Linked DNA regions of Homo sapiens: region 1 is linked to region 2. Evidence: promoter capture Hi-C in 16 types of primary human blood cells and fetal thymus (Javierre and others, 2016). All regions are on one chromosome and are shown on one strand. Each heading gives the region's core, a stretch centred on a gene start or on the middle of the fragment in contact. The rest is flanking DNA. Distances are from core to core; before and after follow the strand shown.

Region 1 (5,475 bases), core at 871-3,370, 990 kb after region 2:
GAACCCCAAAATTGGGACTTAACCCTGGAGGGCTTTTGGCTTCAGAGTTAATTTAAAAACACTTCCTAGACCAATAGTGTACAGCAAACTGCTCCATAAACAAAGGGCGACCTGTGTGCTAACCCACAGGCAGCACAGCCTGTAGTAGTAGTATACAGAAAAGTGGGTGCTCCACAGAGCACAAGCTAACCCACAGGCAGAGCAGCCAAGTAGCAGCATGCAGCAAAGTGGGCGCTCCACACAGCACAAGCTAACGCACAGGCAGAGCAGCCCAGAGTAGCAGCATGCAGCATAATAGGTGCTCCACAGAGCAAGGCTCACCCATAGAGCATCCCAGAGTAGCAGCATAGTACAGCAAAGCGGGTGCTCCACAAAGCAAGGCTAACCCATAGGCAGAGAAGCCTACAGCAACTGTGTACAGCAAGGTGGATGCTGCAGAAAGCACAACTAACCCACAGGCAGAACAGCCCAGAATAGCAGTGTACAGCAAAGTGGATGCTCCACCAGTAGAACAGACAGGAAGGGCAGGAGCAGTGTTCAGCAACAGGAGCAGTCCAGAGCAGGAGTCAGAGCAGGAGCCAGAACTGAAGAAAGAGCCACAGTAAAGCACACAGGCTAGCTATATTTATACCCACTATTAATTATATGCTAATTAAGTAGTGTGTTATTCAGAATTTTCTAGAAAAGGGGTGGGGGGAGCTCCCAGAACCCTATAGGGTAACTTCTGAGTCATGTCCATGGCATTTGTAAACTGTCATGGCGCCGATGGGAGTGTCTTTATTCTAATGAGCTGTGAGGGCAACTAGAGGTTGCTTTGTCACCATCTGCTGGTTTCAGCCAGCTGTTTTGTTTTGTTTTGTTTGAGACTGAGTCTGGCTCTATTGCCCAGGCTGGAGTGCAGTGGCTCGATCTTGACTCACTGCAACCTCCACCTCCCGGGTTCAAGCAATTCTCATGCCTCAGCCTCCCTAGTAGCTGGTATTACAGGTGCATGCCACCATGCCCAGCTAATTTTTGTATTTTTAGTAGAGATGGGGTTTCACCATATTGGCCAGGCTGGTCTCGAACTCCTGACCTTAGGTGATCTGCCCACATCAGCGTCCTGAAGTGTTGTGATTACAGGTGTGAGCCACTGCACCCAGCCAGGGTTTTTTGTTTTTGAGACAGGGTCTTGCTCTGTCGCCCCAGCTGGAGTGCAGTGGCACAATCGTAGCTCACTGCTGCCTTGATCTCCCAGGCTCAAGCAATCCTCCCACCTCAGCCCCACAAGCAGCTGAGACTACACATGTAGGCCACCATGTCTCGCTAATTTTTTTTTAACTTACATTTTTAGGGATGGAGTTCTCACTATGTTGCCCAGCTGATATCGAACTTCTAGGCTCAGGGGATCCTCCCACCTCAGCCTCTCAAAGCACTGGGATTATAGGTGTGAGCCACCACTCTGCTGAGGTTTTTTTGTTGTTTTTTTTTTACTGCATCCTGTTTTTGATCAGCATGGTCATTACCGGTGCTTGGAAAAGAAGTCCTGCTGATCTCCTACCTCACTTTGGAAAATTCTTTTCAAGATTAAGTATATGACTATTTATAAAGAACTTAGTACAGTGAGACCAATGATCAATTATTTAAAGTTGTTTTACTCTTGTTAGTGTCATTATTAAATTTTTTAATTCTTTTCATTATTCCGTATCCCATGTTGTTGTATTTTCACAGTGAATATGAGTCTGCATCCAGTTATGGCCAATGACTTCATATTCTTTTGTGATCTATGGAGTTTCAGATGTGAGTACATTCAGACAAGACAAGACCATCACAAACCACTGAGATATATTCATCTCTGCTGCTTGTGACCTGGGGTCCTCCTTCTTCCCCTCTGACTGCCACTATTGGGAGGCAGAAGTAGGAAGAACAACAGAATGGGCTGTGGGTGTAATTTTATCATTTTTTTTTAGAATTACTTTTTTTTTTTTTTACATTTTTGCTTTTAAAAATAGTTTTGCTAAAGTATAATTGGCATATGATAAACTGCACATAAAGTATACATGTTAATGAGTGTGACATAAGTATTCATATGAACCCGTTACCCTAATCAAGACACTGAACTTGCTGGGCACAGTGGTTCACGCCTGTAATCCCAGCACTTCAGGAGGCCGAGGCGGGCGAATCACCTGAGGTCAGGAGTTCGAGACCAGCCTGACTAACATGGTGAAACCCCATCTCTACTAAAAATACAAAAATTAGCCGGGCATGGTGGCATATGCCTGTAATCCCAACTACTCAGGAGGCTGAAGCAGGAGAATCACTTGAACCCGGGAGGCAGAGATGGCAGGGAGCCAAGATCACGCCATTGCACTCGAGCCTGGGCAACAGAGCAACACTCTGTCTCAAAAAAAAAAAAAAAAAAGTGAACTTATCACCTCTAAAATGTACTTGTCCCCCTTTGTAATACCTTTCTCCTATCTCACTTTGTCCCCCAACTCAAAGGAACCACTGATCTAACCTTTGTCACTGTAGATTAGTTTGTATTTTCTAGTTTTGTAAAAATAGAATCCAGTATGTACTGTATTTTGATCAGTTTCTTTTACTCAGCATAATTATTTACTCAGCAGTCCTTGCTGGTTTCATGATGTAAGTGGTCGTGTGGGGAAAGTCCACATGGCCAGGAGCTTCAAGCTCCTCTAGGAAGTGCGGGCAGCCTCTCAGAATTAAAGGCGTCTTCCAGCCAGCAACCAGCAAGAAGCGGGTGTCCTCATACCTAAAGCTGCAAGGAAATGAATTCCGCCAACAACCTGAGTGAGCTTGGACATGGATTCTTCCCCAGTCAAGTGTCTAGATGAGAATGCATCCTGGTGGGACACTTCAATTAGTCTTGTGAGACCCTAAGCAAAAGACCTAACTAAGTCATGCCCAGACTCCTGATCATTTATTATCCTGAGATAATAAACGTATGTTGTTTTGAGACCCTGAAGTTTGTGCTAATGTATTTTGCAGCAACAAAAAACTAACATATTTTAGGCTGGGCACAGTGGCTAACACTGTAATCCCAGTGCTTTGGGAGGCCTAGGTGGAAGGATCACTTGAGACCACTAGTTCAAGACCAGCCTGGGCAATAGTGAGAAACTGCACCACCCCCCCACAACCCCTCGTCTCCACAAAAAAATTTCTAAAAATTAGCTGGGTGTGGTGGCACACACTTATAGTCCCAGCTACTCAGGAGGCTGAGGCAGGAGGATGGTTTGAACCCAGAAGTTCAAGGCTACAGCGAGCTATGATTGCACCACTGTGCCCCAGCCTGGGTGACAAAGTGAGACTCCATCTCAAACAAAAAGAAAAAGAAGAGTAACATATTTTGAATCAACAGTTTGTTTCTTTTGTTGCTTAATAGTATTTCTTTGCAGGGATATACCACAATATTTTAGCCATTCATCTATTGATGAACATTTGGATTATTTCCAGATTTAACTAATACAAATAAAGCTGCTATGAGTATTTTTGTACAAATCTTTATATGGACACATATTTCCTTTTCTCTTGAGTAGATACCTAGAAGTGCCATGGCTGAATCATATGGTAGTATGATTAACAACATTAGTTATATGATTAACTTTTTAAGAACCTGTCAAAATGTTTTCCATAGTATTTACATGCATAGGACAAATTTATAAGAGTTCCAATTCCGCTATGTCCTTTCCAATACTTCACCCTCAGTCTTTTAAATTTTAGGCATTCTAATAGATGTGTAGTGGTATTTGATTGTGATTTTAGTTTGCATTTCCCAAATGACTGATATTCAAAGTATTTTCCTGTGCTTATTTGCTAACAATATGTTTTCTTTGAAGTGTCTGTTCATATCTTTTGCCCACTTATTTAATTGGGTTGTTTATCCTCTTAGTGTTGAGAGTACTATATTAAGTATTGTTCATTCTGGATACCAGTCCTTTATCAGGTAAGTGCATTTATAAGTATTTCCCCGAGTTTGTGGCCTGATTTTTCATTTTCTTAACACTGACTTTCAAAGAGCTATTTTTAATTTTGAAGAAATCCAATGCATGTTTGTTCTTTTATGAATTCTGCTGTCATATCTAAGAAATCTTTGCCTAATCCAGTGTCATAAAAATTTCTTACATTTTCTTGTAGAGGTCTTGTAGTTTTAGGTTTTATGTTTAAATGTATGAACTGTTTTAATTTTTGCAAGGTATAGACACAAGTTCATATATATATATAACATATTATATATATATATATTTTGCATGTGGATATTCAATTTTTCTAACACTACTTTTTGAAAAGACTATCCTTTCCACCAGGATGCCTTTGGGCCTCTTTCAAACATCAGTTGTTTATATACATGTTGGTTTGTTTCTGGATTCTCTATTGTGTTCCATTGACCTACTTGCCTATCTTACAACCATACCATGCTGTCTGGCTTTCTGAAGCTTTATAATAATTCTGTGAAATGAGGTAGTTGATAGCCATCCAGGTTTGTTCTTTTTCGGAGTTGTTTTGGCAACTGTAGATCCTTTTCATTTCCATATTAATTTTGGAATCAGATTGCCAATTTCTGCAAAGAAACCTCCTGGGTTTTGACTGGGTTAGTGTTGAATTTGTGTATTCGTTTGAGAATAATTGTTATCTTAACAATACTGAGTTTTCTGGCCTATAAGCAAGTTTTATCTCTCCAAGTATTAAAGTCTTCTTCAATTTCTCTCAGAAATATTTTGTAGTTTTCAGTGTATAGATATTTCACATCTTTTCTCAAACTTATCCCTAAGTATTTCATATTTTAGTTTTATTATAACTTTTTAAACATTTCTGATTGTTACTAGTATATACAAATGCAGTTTTTAATATTGATCTTGCATCCTACAGCCTTTCTGAACTCAACCATTAACTCTAGTAGCTTTTTGTACATTCTGATTTTCTACATGAGATGGCCATGTCATTTGAGAATAATAAGTGCTATCTTCACAATTTAGATGATTCTTCTTTCCTTCCATTGTTCCTTCTTTTCTTTCCTCTTTCTTTTTTCCCCTAATTTCACTAGCTAGAATTTCCAACATTGAATAGAAGTGGTGAAAGCAAACATGACTATCTTGTTTACGACCTTAGGGGGAAAACATTCAGTCTTTAAGTATAATCTTAGTTGTAGATTTTTTGTAAATACACTTTATCACATTAGGAAGTTCTCCTCTATTTCTAGTTTACTGAGAGTTTTCATCAGTAATGAATGTTGAATTATGTCAAATGCTTTTTCTGCCTTATAGTGTGACAGTCCTCCACCAGCTTGCTTAAGGGTGATATCTGCTACTTGAACCCTGAAGGCTGGGTGATAAGCCAAGACCATGGTACCCAGCTGAGGAGCAGGTATCCCTGAGAACCCAAACATCCCAGAGAGTATCTGATCAAGGAAAACAGTCTCCTTGCCTAAACACAGTAGGCAAAGACCAGAACATTAGCTTAAAAGCAGCTTAGAGATGG
Region 2 (6,211 bases), core at 854-3,353:
CGGGCAGATCACCTGATGTCCGGAGTTCGAGACCAGCCTGACCGACATGGAGAAACCTCGTCTCTACTAAAAATACAAAATTAGCCAGGGTGTCGTGGCGCATGCCTGTAATCCCAGCTACTCCGGAGGCTGAGGCAGGAGAATGGCTTGAACCCGGGAGGCGGAGGTTGCTGTGAGCCAAGATCGCGCCATTGCACTCCAGCCTGGGAAACAAGAGAGAAACTTCGTCTCAAAAAAAAAAAAAAAAAAGAAAAAAAAATTTACTTGTGAGGGACTCTGGAAATTTCATTTCTCATCAGAATTTCTCAGATAAGTTATCTAGGCAAGGCAGCCTGTGATTGCACAGCAGTGTTCAAGTATAAGGCCTTGTCTGGCACCAAAGACAGGCCTTAGTTTATTTCCCAGGTGTGAAAGAAATTGCAGATTTAAGATCACACAGTCCTTATGTTAAATAACTGTAACCTAAATTACATGGTATTTAAGTTTGTAAAAATCTGCTTTAACACTAATTTTATTTATTGTATATTCCCGGTTTTTAATGGAGAAAGCAAACTTCTAGGTGCTAAAAACGTGTTCTAGACTTGAATAAAAAGATAGGTAGACTACGTCTAACCCTTCATCTTAAAATCTTTACCTGGAAAAGACCATGAGTAAAATACTTAAGGGAATGTGGAATTTCCCAGGCCACAAAGCGGCCTGCAGTTGTCTAGGAAGGGAGAGTCCTCTAGGAGATACAGTGTATGTGCTAAGTTTAATGACGTCTCCTCTTCATTCTCCCCCACCCAGCGCCTAGTCCTTACTGGCCTTCAGTTCAGTGTTCGAAGGCTTGTCAATTTACCCAGCAGTTAAGAGTTGGCTTCTCCTAAAGCAACTTTCAAACTTGTCTGCATGTTACAAGCCCCCTACGGAGATTTTAAGTTTCAATCAGGCAACACACCATTTATGGCTGACTGAGCACTGGGATTCAAGCAAAATTTGATTTGATTTGAATCTTGAATAAACCAGTTGAATAGAATAAGATGTATGAAGCAACATCTGGCGCAGTGCTTACATCTTTAGTTCTGTACTGCCTTAGTGTTGTTATCAAAACTGACGCATATTAGGTTAAAAGACTATTACCGGGGCAGTTGGAAACCCAGGAGACACACCCTTCAGTATACTACGAAGGTGTGCGCCACGAAAACAGAGGGGGAGTCCTTCCTTAGGCAGTTACTGCCCAGGTTCCCACTCCGGTCCGCTATGTAAATCAGAGTCTCAAAACAGCTTTCCCTCGATTGGTTAATATTTAAAATGACAGGACAGCCTATTGGCTAGAAGCTGGTGGCGAAATTATGACATTACGGCAACCGTTGATCCTGGCGACGTAGACAGGGACAGACAGCTGGGTCTGAAACCTAAGCGAGCCTGCGGTTTCTTCCGGGAACGCCGAGTTAGCAAAATGGCCGCTTGTCTCCATTTTAAATTTAAGCACAACGAATTGACCCCAAAGCCATTTTTAATGGCTGGCTTCTTTCGGGTTCAGGACCCTTTGTCCCTCTCTAAGCTGCAACACTTGTCCCCACCCCTCTCCAGTTCCTATATTCTAATACCCCTCCGCCGCCAAATAAAATTTGGCGTCTGGCCACAGCTCTTTTAGTGGGTATCTGGGTGGCTCTTAAAAGAGCCTTTGGGGTTAGGTGTTAAGACGCTTACTTGGAATGTTTACTTGGAGCTGGTGTACTTGGTGACGGCCTTGGTGCCCTCCGACACGGCGTGCTTGGCCAGCTCTCCGGGAAGCAGCAGGCGCACGGCCGTCTGGATCTCCCTGGAGGTGATGGTCGAGCGCTTGTTGTAATGCGCCAGGCGGGAAGCCTCGCCCGCGATGCGCTCAAATATGTCGTTAACGAAAGAATTCATGATGCCCATGGCCTTGGAAGAGATGCCAGTGTCGGGATGGACCTGTTTCAGCACCTTGTACACGTACACAGAGTAACTCTCCTTGCGGCTGCGCTTGCGCTTCTTGCCATCTTTCTTCTGCGCTTTGGTCACTGCCTTCTTGGAGCCCTTCTTCGGGGCGGGAGCAGACTTGGCTGGCTCAGGCATCTTAAAACACCAGAAATGTGTCGAAAGTAAAGAGCGGATTTCTGCTACTTATAGGGCTTTTATGCTAATGAGGGATGGAGAGTACCTCTTAGTTAATTGGAAGACAAACTGCACAGTTGTCATCCGTGGGCAGAGCTATGCAAATGAGGTATGAAAGTACAGCTTTTCTATTGGCTATCTGACTAGCATTTGCTACCGACCAATCAAAAAGTCGGATTTACTCCCCAGGAACTACCTATAAAAGCGGCCATGTTTTACATATTTCTTGATTTTGTTTGTTTTCTCGTGAGCTTAGGCCGCTGGTTTTGGTGATTTTTGTCTGATTGCAATGTCTGGACGTGGTAAGCAAGGAGGCAAAGCTCGCGCCAAAGCGAAATCCCGCTCTTCTCGCGCTGGTCTCCAGTTCCCGGTGGGCCGAGTGCACCGCCTGCTCCGTAAAGGCAACTACGCAGAGCGGGTTGGGGCAGGCGCGCCGGTGTACCTGGCGGCGGTGTTAGAGTACCTGACCGCCGAGATCCTGGAGCTGGCCGGCAACGCGGCTCGCGACAACAAGAAGACTCGCATCATCCCGCGCCACTTGCAGCTGGCCATCCGCAACGACGAGGAGCTCAACAAACTGCTAGGCCGGGTGACCATTGCTCAGGGCGGCGTCCTTCCTAACATCCAGGCCGTGCTTCTGCCTAAGAAGACCGAGAGTCACCACAAGGCCAAGGGCAAGTGATTTGACAGGTATCTGAGCTCCCGGAAACGCTATCAAACCCAAAGGCTCTTTTCAGAGCCCCCCTACCGTTTCAAAGGAAGAGCTAACCTCACTGCTTGTAGGTAGAAGGAAAAAAGGCACTAAGGTAAGTTAATTTTATGCCAACCTTGAGCAAAGCGTATTACTGCTTTTCGGTTTTTGGGGAGCGCTGTTACTAAAGGTTGGTCTGTTTGTATGTAATAGTAGGTCAGTTACGTACTATCATACTCTAAAGAAATATTCTAGTTAATGCTTTGTAAGATCGACCATAGTTAGTGCCTAACAGTTTACATGCAGGGATGCCTCGTGATCTAAACACTTCGTTGTGATTACTTTAAAAATGTAAATTGAAGGCAAAACTCTAACGTGTTGGTAACCTTGTTTGGTCCTCCGACTAGTCCCCCGTCTATTTTTTTCTCAATTTAGGCTGTAGGCAGCCTCACTTTCCTAATTCTGTGAGAGTTATAGGTCCCATTCCTGCTAAAGTGCAGAGTATATTACCTAAAAGTTAACCAGGGAGTTGAAAGGTGTCTGTAAAACAGACTAATGTCCCTAATGTAGAACGGTGCCTGACATGCAACTTACTCTTGTATTTTAAGAAGCTCAAGCGTCTAGGTTGCCATTACAGGCAGAAAAGGAAATAGAGTGGGGCCTGTGGCCACTCAAAAACCTTTGCTTTCTGCTCACCCCTCTAATCCTACCACTTTGGGAGGCCGAGGGGGCTGATCACCTGAGGTCACGACTTCGACACTAACCTGGCCAACATGGTGAAACACCTCTCTACTAAATAAAAATAATAAATAAAAAAATAAGTTGGGCGTGGTGGCACATACCTTGTAATCCCAGCTACTCTTGAAGCTGACGCAGGAGAGTCGCTTGAGCCTGGGAGGCGGAGGTTGTAGTAAGCCGAGATCGTGCCACTGCCCTCCAGCCTGGGCAACAGTGAGACACGGTCCCCCAAAAAAACCTTTGCTTCTAGGGATCTGGTAACAGCTGCCCCACCCACAAGAAATGGAGATCTGGGACCATGGACAAATTTCTAGAGACCTATTTTCCTGGATTCTGTGAATCTCGCCGAGGTTTTCTTCCGGATCTCGGTTTCTGCATTTTTTTGTTTGTTTGCTTGCTTTTTTGAAACGGAGTTTTGCTCCTGTTGCCCAAGCTGGAATGCAGTGGCGCGATCTCGGCTCACTGCATACAAACTCCGCCTCCCGGGTTCAGACGACTCTCCGGCCTCAGCCTCCCTAGTAGATGGGATTACAAGCGCCCGCCACCAGTAGAAACGGAGTTTCACCAGGTTAGCCGGGCTGGTCTCGAACTCCTGACCTCAGGTGATCCGCCAGCCTCTGCCTACCAAAGTGCTGGGATTACAGGCGTGAGCCACCGCGCCCGGCCGGTTTCTGCTTTGATCGGAATTAAGTGGGCAGAAAAGTCTAGGCGGGCTAAGTCTTGCCTATGCATCTGCGCCCAGCTGCTCAGACTGGCCAAACAGACCCAGTCGTTTAGTCTAACGCTTCTGGAACTCCACTGAAGCGTTTTGCATTGTTTCGTTTGGAGCCTTCAAATCCGAGTGTGTGGCAGGAGATAATAATCCTAGCAGAAGCTGTTTACTGCTGACGCGCCTCCCACTTCCCAGATACTGACACCGGCTCAGGGCGGATCCAGCCTTTTCCGCTCTTCCCTCCCTCCACCCCCTCCTTTCCCTACAACTACTCTCAAAGGAAAAGGGTTGGATGTCCCATTTGGGTGAAAACAAAGTGGCATAAAAGCAAATGATCACCTTTGATAGCCACATATTAGAATTTTCCGAGGGTATTTTTAAATTACAACGATTCTAATGGGCAGCTGGGCTGAGAATCATCAGATTTGAAGGTCTGGTTTCACATGGCTCTTGGGCTGAGAAGACCGGATTTTCCCCCCCCAGCATTTCCTGTATGTCCGAGAATTTCGATCCTAAGGTTAGAATTGCCTTATGGGCCTTGGAATCCTTTTTATTCACTGACCAAATTGCCTTTGATTCCAGCTCCCAATCGGTGTGTGACCTTGGCCTAGGGCTTAATCTCTTCCTACCTCCATCTCTTCCTTGTATGCTTTTGCTCACCTTGAAATGAAAAGAACCTGGCTCAGCAAGTGTAGATTCTGAAATCAGAAAACAGGCTGAATAAGAGAGATGGTTTATTAGGCACTACTGTGTGCCAGGCACATTTCATGAGCTTCCAGTATGTTAATTCATTTAATCCAACAATCTAAGAGATAGGTTTTATCCTTATTCCGAATTTTGAGATGAGCAAACTAAGAAACAGCTTAAAGAACTTAAGTTGTAAGGCCAGGAAAACAGTACTTATAACAGCTGACTATTCTATAACCACACCTCCTTAAGAGATTATTGTCAGAAAAATAGAAAGAGTAAAACATCCATACATAATGGGTAAACTTTGTCCACATACCAGAATGTTACTAATGGCTTTCTAACCTCTGAAGAATTTAAGGGAAGGAGGAAAGGTAATTTTCCCCAGGGAATCTACACGAAGAGGTAAATCTTGACAATGTATTAATACTGTAAACCCAGGGAAAAAAAGCCAGTACAATTTTTATTTAGGGTGTGGCAAATAAAACAAAGGGACACGTGAAAACATGGCTCAGTAAAGAGCTACAAGACTTGGTGCAACTGACTTATTGTGGTGAGTGAGAAAAGGAGAGAGAGAAAACTTGAATTTCAATTCTTCTCTCTGGGCTCCAATAACAAGATTTTGTATTCGGTCTATTTAGTAGTGAATGATACATTGTGTTAAGTTTGTTAACCTAGAGGCTTTCATCTTAAGCAGTACTTAAGATGTAGACCCCCTCTTATTCAAATACTGATAATCAGCATAGAACTTGGCATACAAGAGACACTTGGCTGTTGGGCATTGAGAAAATGTTGAACTGAATGAATCAATGACTTAGGCAGCCAGGAAGCACTTTGTTGTAGAGAGTTGGTTTATTACTAAGGAAGACATTAAGTATTAAATATTAGACTAATAGGTTGCTAATAGTGTTTTCTCTTTCCAATAGAAAATGTCTTCTGAGGCTGATCTGGTGTCTCACATCTGTAATCCCAGCACTTGGGGAGGCTGAGGTGGGTAGATCACCTGAGGTCAGGAGTTTGAGACCAGCCTGGCCAACATGGCGAAACCCCATCTCTAATAAAACTACACAAATTAGTCAGGTGTGGCGGTGTTCACCTGTAGGCGCCTGTAGTCCCAGCTACTCAGGAGACTGAGGCAGAAGAATCACTTGAACCCCGGGAGGTGGAGGTTGTAGTGAGCCAAGATCGTGCCACTGCACTCCAGCCTGGGCGACAAAGTGAAACTCCGTCTCAAAAAAAAACCAACCCCATCTCTACTAAAA

Evidence for each region. The method cuts DNA at HindIII sites, captures the fragments that hold promoters and counts their contacts. A CHiCAGO score of 5 or more calls a contact.
Region 1: a contact is called between a fragment that was not itself captured here and the fragment with the promoter of H2BC4 in region 2, in 1 of 17 cell types (monocytes). The highest score is 5.9, in monocytes.

The regions. Positions count from the first base shown.
Region 1 is chr6:27,114,543-27,120,017 of GRCh38, forward strand. No RefSeq gene overlaps it. Among named protein-coding and RNA genes, the nearest start is that of H2BC11, 16 kb to the right of the region's middle. RefSeq lists an enhancer at 669-768. The HindIII fragment of the contact is 4,621 bases long and covers 1-4,431 here.
Region 2 is chr6:26,121,823-26,128,033 of GRCh38, forward strand. It overlaps H2BC4 (H2B clustered histone 4), which reads right to left and starts at 2,104. Exons shown (of 1, transcript NM_003526.3): 1 at 1,645-2,104. The coding sequence starts at 2,082. The coding sequence ends at 1,702. H2AC6 (H2A clustered histone 6) reads left to right here and starts at 2,350. Exons shown (of 1, transcript NM_003512.4): 1 at 2,350-2,868. The coding sequence starts at 2,411. The coding sequence ends at 2,803. RefSeq lists enhancers at 211-895, 896-1,581, 1,029-2,228, 1,277-2,016, 2,260-3,459 and 5 more and a silencer at 1,888-2,253. The HindIII fragment of the contact is 15,442 bases long and covers 1-6,211 here.